Linked DNA regions of Homo sapiens: region 1 is linked to region 2. Evidence: promoter capture Hi-C in human tissues and cell types (Jung and others, 2019). All regions are on one chromosome and are shown on one strand. Each heading gives the region's core, a stretch centred on a gene start or on the middle of the fragment in contact. The rest is flanking DNA. Distances are from core to core; before and after follow the strand shown.

What was found. The method cuts DNA at HindIII sites, captures the fragments that hold promoters and counts their contacts. A contact is called where the count stands out against the background at its distance.
Region 1: a fragment that was not itself captured here is called in contact with the fragment with the promoter of GUCA1B in region 2 in 1 of the 25 tissues and cell types used here (mesenchymal stem cells).

What each region holds. Positions count from the first base shown.
Region 1 is chr6:42,453,815-42,457,776 of GRCh38, reverse strand. It overlaps LOC124900214 (arf-GAP with GTPase, ANK repeat and PH domain-containing protein 2-like), which reads right to left. Exons shown (of 4, transcript XM_047419627.1): 1 at 3,495-3,962; 2 at 2,862-2,997; 3 at 1,623-1,832; 4 at 593-1,041. The coding sequence ends at 3,859. LOC107986596 (a long non-coding RNA gene) reads right to left here. Exons shown (of 5, transcript NR_171668.1): 2 at 3,495-3,560; 3 at 2,862-2,997; 4 at 1,623-1,832; 5 at 593-1,041. Among named protein-coding and RNA genes, the nearest start is that of TRERF1, 3.9 kb to the right of the region's middle. The HindIII fragment of the contact is 4,823 bases long and covers 1-3,887 here.
Region 2 is chr6:42,193,675-42,197,579 of GRCh38, reverse strand. GUCA1B (guanylate cyclase activator 1B) reads left to right here and starts at 2,624. Exons shown (of 4, transcript NM_002098.6): 1 at 2,624-2,966. The coding sequence starts at 2,760. RefSeq lists a cis regulatory region at 1-133. The HindIII fragment of the contact is 9,949 bases long and covers 1-3,905 here.

The DNA.
Region 1 (3,962 bases), core at 227-2,726, 260 kb before region 2:
CACCTGCAGTCCCAGCTACTTGGGAGGCAGACGTGCAAGGATCACCTGAGCCTGGGAGGTTGAGGCCGCAGTGAACTGTGATTATGCCACTGCACTGCAGCCTGGGTGAAAGAGCAAGACTGTTTCAAAAATACATGTATGTAATTATTTATAACAGTAATAATTCAACAAGCCTCATAATTTTTAATTTTAATGCTTAAAAGGGTTATGTTTATTTTACTTTTAAATTTATTTCATTTTATTATTTTTCAACCTGATCATCTCAGACAATAAATTTATTTCAAATGTATTTGAAACATGTCAAATATTCAACAGCAGTAGGGAAACTAGTATGGAAAGTTCCATATGGGAAATGGAATAATGAATAACTTCAACAATTTTCCGTATTTCACTAATCTTGTTTCATTTATTTAGTGTTTTGATGGGGAGGGGATGGAGTATTGGAAAGCAAATCCTAGATATATTTTCACTCAAAATGCCTCATTATGTATCTGTAATAGATAAGAACTTAAAAAAAACTGCAATGCCATTATCATATCTGAAAAAGTGATTAATTTCTTAATATCAGATAGTCTACATTTTGTCTCAAAAATGTCTTTTAAAAAAATCTTATTTATTCAAATCAAATCCTCACAAGATCTAAATATTGTATTTAGTTGTTACTAACATTTTAGAATGTTATTTATTTTAGAAGTCATTTATTTACATGCATTTAACCTTTATATTAAACCAACGCAGAAGGTATGGTCCCAGCTCAGAGAGGTTAAGAAACCTTACCAAGGTCTCATTGCTGGCAGGCACCGGACACATAATTTGAATTAAATCTTCTTAACTCCAAAGCCTCCATGCCACTCCTTCTGATGCAGGCTAACAGAATTTTTCCTGTGTTGCAGAGAGGCAAAAGGGCCACTATTTAAGAGAGAGGGTCCGGGTGTGGTGGCTCATGCATGTAATCCCAGCACTTTTTGAGGCCGAGGCAGGCAAATCGCTTGAGTCCAGGAGTTCGAAACCAGTCTGGGCAAGAATGGTGGAACCTCATCTCTACAAAAAAATACAAAAATTAGCTGGGGGTAGTGGCGTACACCTGTAGTCCCAGCTACTGGGGATGCTGAGGTGGGAGGATCACTTGCGCCTGGGAGGTTGAGGCCACAGTGAGCTGACAGCTAACCCTGATTGCCTCCATAGACTGTGCCACTGCATGCCATCTGGGCTGACAAGAGTGAGACCCTGTTTAAAAAAAAAAAAAAAAAGGAAAGAAAAAGTAAAAAGAGATAGGGTTTGGATTCAGGTTGGCCTGGATGCAAATTGGTGCAAATTACATAATCTCTCTGAACTTTCATTTCTGTCTGCATCTGTAAATAAGGATAATGATGAAGATTTGGGGCAGATTAAATAAGAATATGCATGCCTAGTATTTAGCACAGTGCGTGGCACACGGAAAGCCCTCGATAAATGTTAGCAATTAATGTAGAAGAGGAAAAAGAACCACAAAGTATTTAAACATTTGCATTTGTTAGTAGCTCGAGGAAATGGTGGCTCATCATTGTTAATAGAGCCTGCTTAGGATTGAGGCTGAAGGGGGGAAGGGTGGGAGTGGGGATAGGATAGGGGAGTGGCTCTACCTGGATTGGAGAAAGGAGTTCTGGACATAAAGATTTAAATTGGTGTCCGAGGAGTTCTCACAAGGCCTCAGCTGGAAAACAGTTAAATGCATCTTCTGACCACTAACCCAGGTTGCCTCCAGAGAAGGAAAACCAAGTGGGTGGCAGACAGGGTGGGAGGGAGACTTCTTGCTGTTTATTTGAATTTGGAACCATGTGAATGCATTCAACCTATTCCAAAAGAATAAATTACATTAAAAAATGGTCTTTTGCTATGGGGATAAGTGCTGAGAATGGTAAGACTAGGATCTAATGATAATAATAATAATAATTCCATTATACTTTGTGCAGCCCTAGGAGGGCTTCAGTCATGCAGGACAGGTTTTGAACTAAGATTGGGACTTTTTCAGCCTGACTCTGATTTCAAAGATCCAAGCTAATATTTTAATTTCAGTCACCCTCCTTCTGACCCTGATTGTAGAAAGATTCCAGACCCAGCGCTCATGGACTTGGTTTATTCAACCTGTGGATTGCCTTCAAGAGTATGCATTGTTGGGAGTCAAGTCTATTGGTAAAATCAGGGATGCATTGTCTGTGCATCTGCCGGTGTTTCCCAGTCCTTTTGGTGCTCTCTTTCTCTCTCTCTCTCTCCCTCTCTCTATATATATAATTTTATTTTTTGAGACAGAGTCTTGCGCTGTCACCCAGGCTGGAGTGCAGTGGGGCAATCTGCTCACTGCAGCCTCAACCCCGTGGGCTCAAGCCATCCTCCTGCCTTAGCCTCCTCAGTAGCTGGGACTACAGGCATGCACCACTATGCCTGGCTAATTTTTTATTTTTTAATAATAAACGTGGAGAGGGTCTCTCTACATTGTCCAGGCTGGTCTCAAACTCCTCAGCTCAAGCGATCCGCCTACCTCATCCGCCCAAAGCGCTGGGATGACAGGTGTGAGCCACCCCGCCTGGCCCCATAGATATTTTTCTGATGCTTCAATCAGCTAAGACTCTGAGGATCTGATTTTCTAGAGTCCTTTGGAAGGTGGGGGGGGGGCGGGGCGGGGGAGGATACACAACCCTATTCACAAATATTAGTAACTTGCTTTAAACTCTAAGGCCTTACATAAAATAACTCATTTAAACCTCACAATAACACTATGATATGAATACTATCATTCCCATTTTACAGGCAAAGAAACTGAACCAAGCGGTTAAGTAATTTGCCTAAGGTCAGAGCCTGCAGAGCTAACCATCTGGCATTACCATCACTCTGTTGGCAATGAACAGAGCGGGCCAAGCGTGTAGGGTGTAGGGGGTCCTTTGAAGATGACAAAAGCGTCCTTGGCTGTGTAGCCGCAAATCCCAAATCCTTCCTTCTCTGCAGCTTCTGGTTTAGGAGCTGGAAAGACAGGCTGTGAATTTCCACATTGACCTGGGGCAATTAACTTAACTCTCCGAATAGGTTCCTTATCTGCCCCGGGGAGGAGTTTTAGATTAAGAGGGTGTGTGTGTGTGCTGGGAGGGAGGTGGAGGGGCTGAGTTTTCTGGGTGGTGCGGTTTTCCCAAGTCCCGTTTTGAGGTTTTGTCCTAGCCAGCTCCCGCTCAGGTCCCTGGGCGGTGACGGTGGTCAAGCTTAGCTTGGCTGTTCCTCCTCCGCTTGGAAAAAGGCCGCCACTGGGGCCAACTCCGGCCACAGCGCTGCTGCCAGGAGACCTAGGGTAGGTCTTTTCCCCTGAGGTAGAGACCTGGGTGTACCCTCAGGAAGGCATCTTGAAGTTACTGACAGTTGAGTCAAATCTTGAAGGTCCAGCAGGAGTTAGTAAGAAGAGGTGGAAGGGGAAAGGTTAGGCGCCCCCTCCTCCACCCCTTGAACAAAGAAAGCTTGACGGGGCTTACAATATCCGAGGAAGAGCTGGGCGGGTAGAGAGGTCTGTAGAGGCGAAATCACAACTTGGCTTTATTCTAAGGGCAATGGAAGAGGGTTTTGAAGGCTTTAAAATAATGTCATTAGGAGTTTTAGTCGCTTGGGAGGAATGGGTCGGAGGGGGACAGGAAGCTATCGCAGAAAGCAGCCCACTTGGAAGATGACCGAGGACTGAGGAAAGAGGGCGGGGGACATCGAGCATCTGAAGCCTTTCCCAGTCGCCGCAACACTGTGCGCTGTCCCTCGGCTTTCTTTGCTTATGTGGAAGGGCTCCATAAAGGGCTGGGCACGCGCCAAACGCTCATTAAGCGAAATAGCCCGGGTCCCCTCCTCTTTTCAGGGACTCTGTGGTCCACGTGCCCCAGAATTGGTAGGGTAGGCGGGAGGACTTTCCACTGCTGAAGATGGAGAACCGTTACCCCTCAAAAAACACAAAAACC
Region 2 (3,905 bases), core at 1,375-3,874:
CAGGTCTGAGGTGGGGCCTGAGACATTGCATTTCTAGCAAGCTCCCAGATGCTGCACTTGTGGCTCAGGGACCACAAGTGAATGGAAGTACTAGGTAAGGTGGAAGAAAAGCTCTTTGGAACTAAAGAGATCAAGGACCAGGCCAGGCCCGGTGGCTTACGCATGTGGGACCATGCCAGGTTGCCAGCAATTAGAGACTAAGAGGGCAGTGTGACCCCCACACATCTCACTGGGGCCGGGCGCAGTGGCTCATGCCTGTAATCCCAGCACTTTGGGAGGCCAAGGCGAGCAGATCATCTGAGGTCAGGAGTTCGAAACCAGCCTGGTCAACATGGTGAAACCCCATCTCTACTAAAAATAGAAAAATTGGCCGGGCATGGTGGCAGGCACCTGTAATTCCAGTTACTAGGGAGGCTGAGGCAGGAGAATCGCTTGAACCCGGGTGGCGGAGTTCACAGTGAGCCGAGATCGCACCACTGCATTCCAGCCTGGGTGAAAAGAGCAAAAACTCTGTTTCAAAAAAAAAAAAAAAAAAGAGAGAGAGATCAAGTACCTTTGAGGCCAGTGTATGGGATGGGCTGTTTATCCACTTGGAGGTCACAGTCACTGAAATGACTGACATGATGCTTTGAGACAAGCAGGGAAGTCACCAGTGAATGACAGTAATGAGGAGAAGTAAATAGTGGCAAGGAGTCAGATGTGGCTTCAAAGGGACTGGCCTTTTTTGGGGAGAAAAAAGTAAAAGGCCATTTGGAGGCAAGAGTTAGAAGCGAGGAGGACACTAGCCCTGTTATCTAGACCTTGAGGTGTGTGTGGGGGAGAAAAACCCACCACCACTTGAAAGGATGACAGAAGAAATCACATTTCTCCTTCAGGAATAGCAAGAAAGTTAAAAGAGCTTTCAGAGCTCAGTGACGTCTGGAGGCAGAGAACAGTGAGAGAGGAGGTCAGGCCTGGAGATGTGCAAAACAATTCAGGCTGAACACCCAGTGAGGGATGGGTAGGTTAAGGATAGATTCACTGGAACTGCTGCCTCTGAAGTCTTCTAGAAAAATGAGTGTCACTGGGCGTGGTGGCTCATGCCTATAATCCCAGCACTTTGGGAGACCAAGGCGGGTGGATCACTTGAGGTCAGGAGTTTGAAACCAGCCTGGCCAACATGATGAAACCCCATCTCTACTAAAAATACAAAAATTAGCTGGCTGCTGGGTGCATCAAACCAACATGGCACATGTATACCTATGTAACAAACCTGTATGTTGTGCACATGTACCCTAGAACTTAAAGTATAATAAAAAAAAAAAAAAGAAGAAAAAATAGCTGGGTGTTGTGGTGTGCACCTGTAATCCCAGCTGCTCGGGAGGCTGAGGCATGAGAATCACTTGAACCCGGAGGCGGAAGTTGCAGTGAGCCGAGATCACACCACTGCACTCCAGCCTGGGCGACAGAGCGAGACCCTGTCTCAAAAAATAGAAATTTAAAAAAAAAAAGCAAAGAAAAAGAAAAATGTGTGTCCCTGGTCTTTTGATTTCTTGGAGGTGTCATTTTTATGTTACATTAAAATAAGCATGAATATGTAATTGTTCAAAAGCAAATTTTACATGACCTATAATGTAAAAGTAAGAGCCTTCAAAGATATTTTAGGCCATGCTCCCAGATCCTTCTCACATGTTAGTATTTTGGAGGAAATGTGAAAAAGGCACTACCCCTAGGTCTTGTGTGAAGGGTTGGAGGGAGGCATTTGTAGTTTAAATCAGAAAGTGAAAAGCTCCCAAGATGAAAGGTGTAATCTGGAAAGGAGCTTCAGGGACCGAGTTAGCCTGGGAAGAGAGTTGCTCACCTAGAGCCCTTCCCATCATAGATTCTGCCTCTTTTCACTAGACCGTCTGAGGGGCGAGTCCCAGATCACCAGCAGATTCTGTTTTATGGCCTAGGACTTGATCTCACTTCCTCTCTGGATTTGAGTCTCCTGTCTCCAAGATGGGCCTCCCTGAAGCAATGTGAGGCCCAGCTAAAGAGATAGGGAGTGAGTGAGATGGGAGGATCCCAGCCTAGCACCCCGACTCTTTCTTCACTCTGCATCTCTCTGCTTACCTCTCAGTTTCTTCCCCTTCTACCTCTTCAGAGTCTACCAGGGCCAGCTTGGTTGCTTTGTTGACAAGGCTAAGGGAAGGAGTGAGGCTGGAGGAGTTTAGGCTGGAGGTCAGAACTTCCTGGGGAATCTCTTTTTTTTTTTTTTTTTTTTTTTTTGAGACAGAGTCTCACTCTGTCCCCCAGGCTGGAGTGCAGTGGTGTGATCGCAGCTCACTGCAACCTCTATCTCCCAGGTTCAAGTGATTCTCCTGCCTCAGCCTCCTGAATAGCTGGGATTACAGGTACCCACCACCATGCCCAGCTAATTTTTTGTATTTTTAGTAGAGACAGGATTTCACCATGTTGGCCAGGCTGGTCTCGAACTCCTGACCTTGTGATCCACCCACCTCGGCCTCCCAAAGTGCTGGGATTACAGGCATGAGCCACCGCACCCGGCCACCTGGGGAATCTTCTAATAGTCTTAGGGCAGCTTAGCTGGCCTGGACCCACCTCCCTTGCCACCTGCCCCCTGCACCGACTGATCATGTTCAGTCACCCAGGAGATGATGGAGAGGCTGATCAGGCCTCCTGGAAAGGGAGGAAGAGGGCCCTAGTTGGAGAGATCCATCAGCAGAAGCCAGGGAGGAGATACAGACCCTTGCTCCCTGATGCTCCTCAGGGCTAGCATGGGGCAGGAGTTTAGCTGGGAGGAGGCGGAGGCAGCTGGCGAGATAGATGTGGCGGAGCTCCAGGAGTGGTACAAGAAGTTTGTGATGGAGTGCCCCAGCGGCACACTCTTTATGCATGAGTTTAAGCGCTTCTTCAAGGTCACAGACGATGAGGAGGCCTCCCAGTATGTAGAGGGCATGTTCCGAGCCTTCGACAAGAATGGGGTAAGGCACCCTGAAGGGAAGGACCAGTGGCCAGTCCACCTGGCGCCTTCCTCCACAAGTGTCCTCAGGGAGAGCTCCCAGTTCCCCACTCCTCGGCTCTTTCTCTGCTCTTCTTTCCACTCCGTCTCTCTTTACCTTTTCTGTCTCACTCACCAAACCCTTCTGTCTCTTCTCTTCCTTTTGTCCCTTTCCATCTTCTCTGTCTCTCCTTCCCTCCCTCCATCTCTTAGCTGTCGGCTGATGCTCCCTGTGTCCTCTTCTTGAGAGCTGAAGGGCGACTGGCAGACAGTCCAGGTCCTCTCTTTGTGTATTTTTGACCAAGACTCTGCAGCCCAATGACCGGGTTTTCGCATCTGCCAGAGCCCCTGTCACTCTAAACACTAGGAGCAAAAGAGATGTTCTAAATGAGACAAGGTATCTTAGCATGGGCTATGAGCTCCCTCTTGTTGGGGTTCTTCTGAGACTGGTCAGATCCTCCCTGTCAAGAATGCTGGAAGAGGCTCCTGCATGTATTGGGAGACTGGGCGAATGACTGCAAAAGCCCCTTTCAGCTCTTCAAGTCCTGGAAGGTTTCATTAAATCATTCAGACTAGAGTTTCTCTAAGCCCACAATGTCACTAGCAGCTAAGAAGATAACACATCTTGTAAATGCACCAGGGGATTGAATTTTAAATTTCAATTCAGTTAAAAACCCCTTGATTATTTAAGGTTATCCAGTTCAGTGCCCTGGCAATCCTCAAATACCTCAAATACCTCAAATGCCCTGGTATTTGCCTCAAATACCAATTTAATCTGAAGAAAGTGTCAGTTCTCCATTCCTCAGTGCGTGGAGAACTTAGCTTTCTAAGCTGAATCACTGGGAATGCCACTTCAGGTCTCATCCTGTCGCTGGTACCAGTCAGTGCACGTCCCCACAGTGCCTGTCCCGGGACAGGAGGG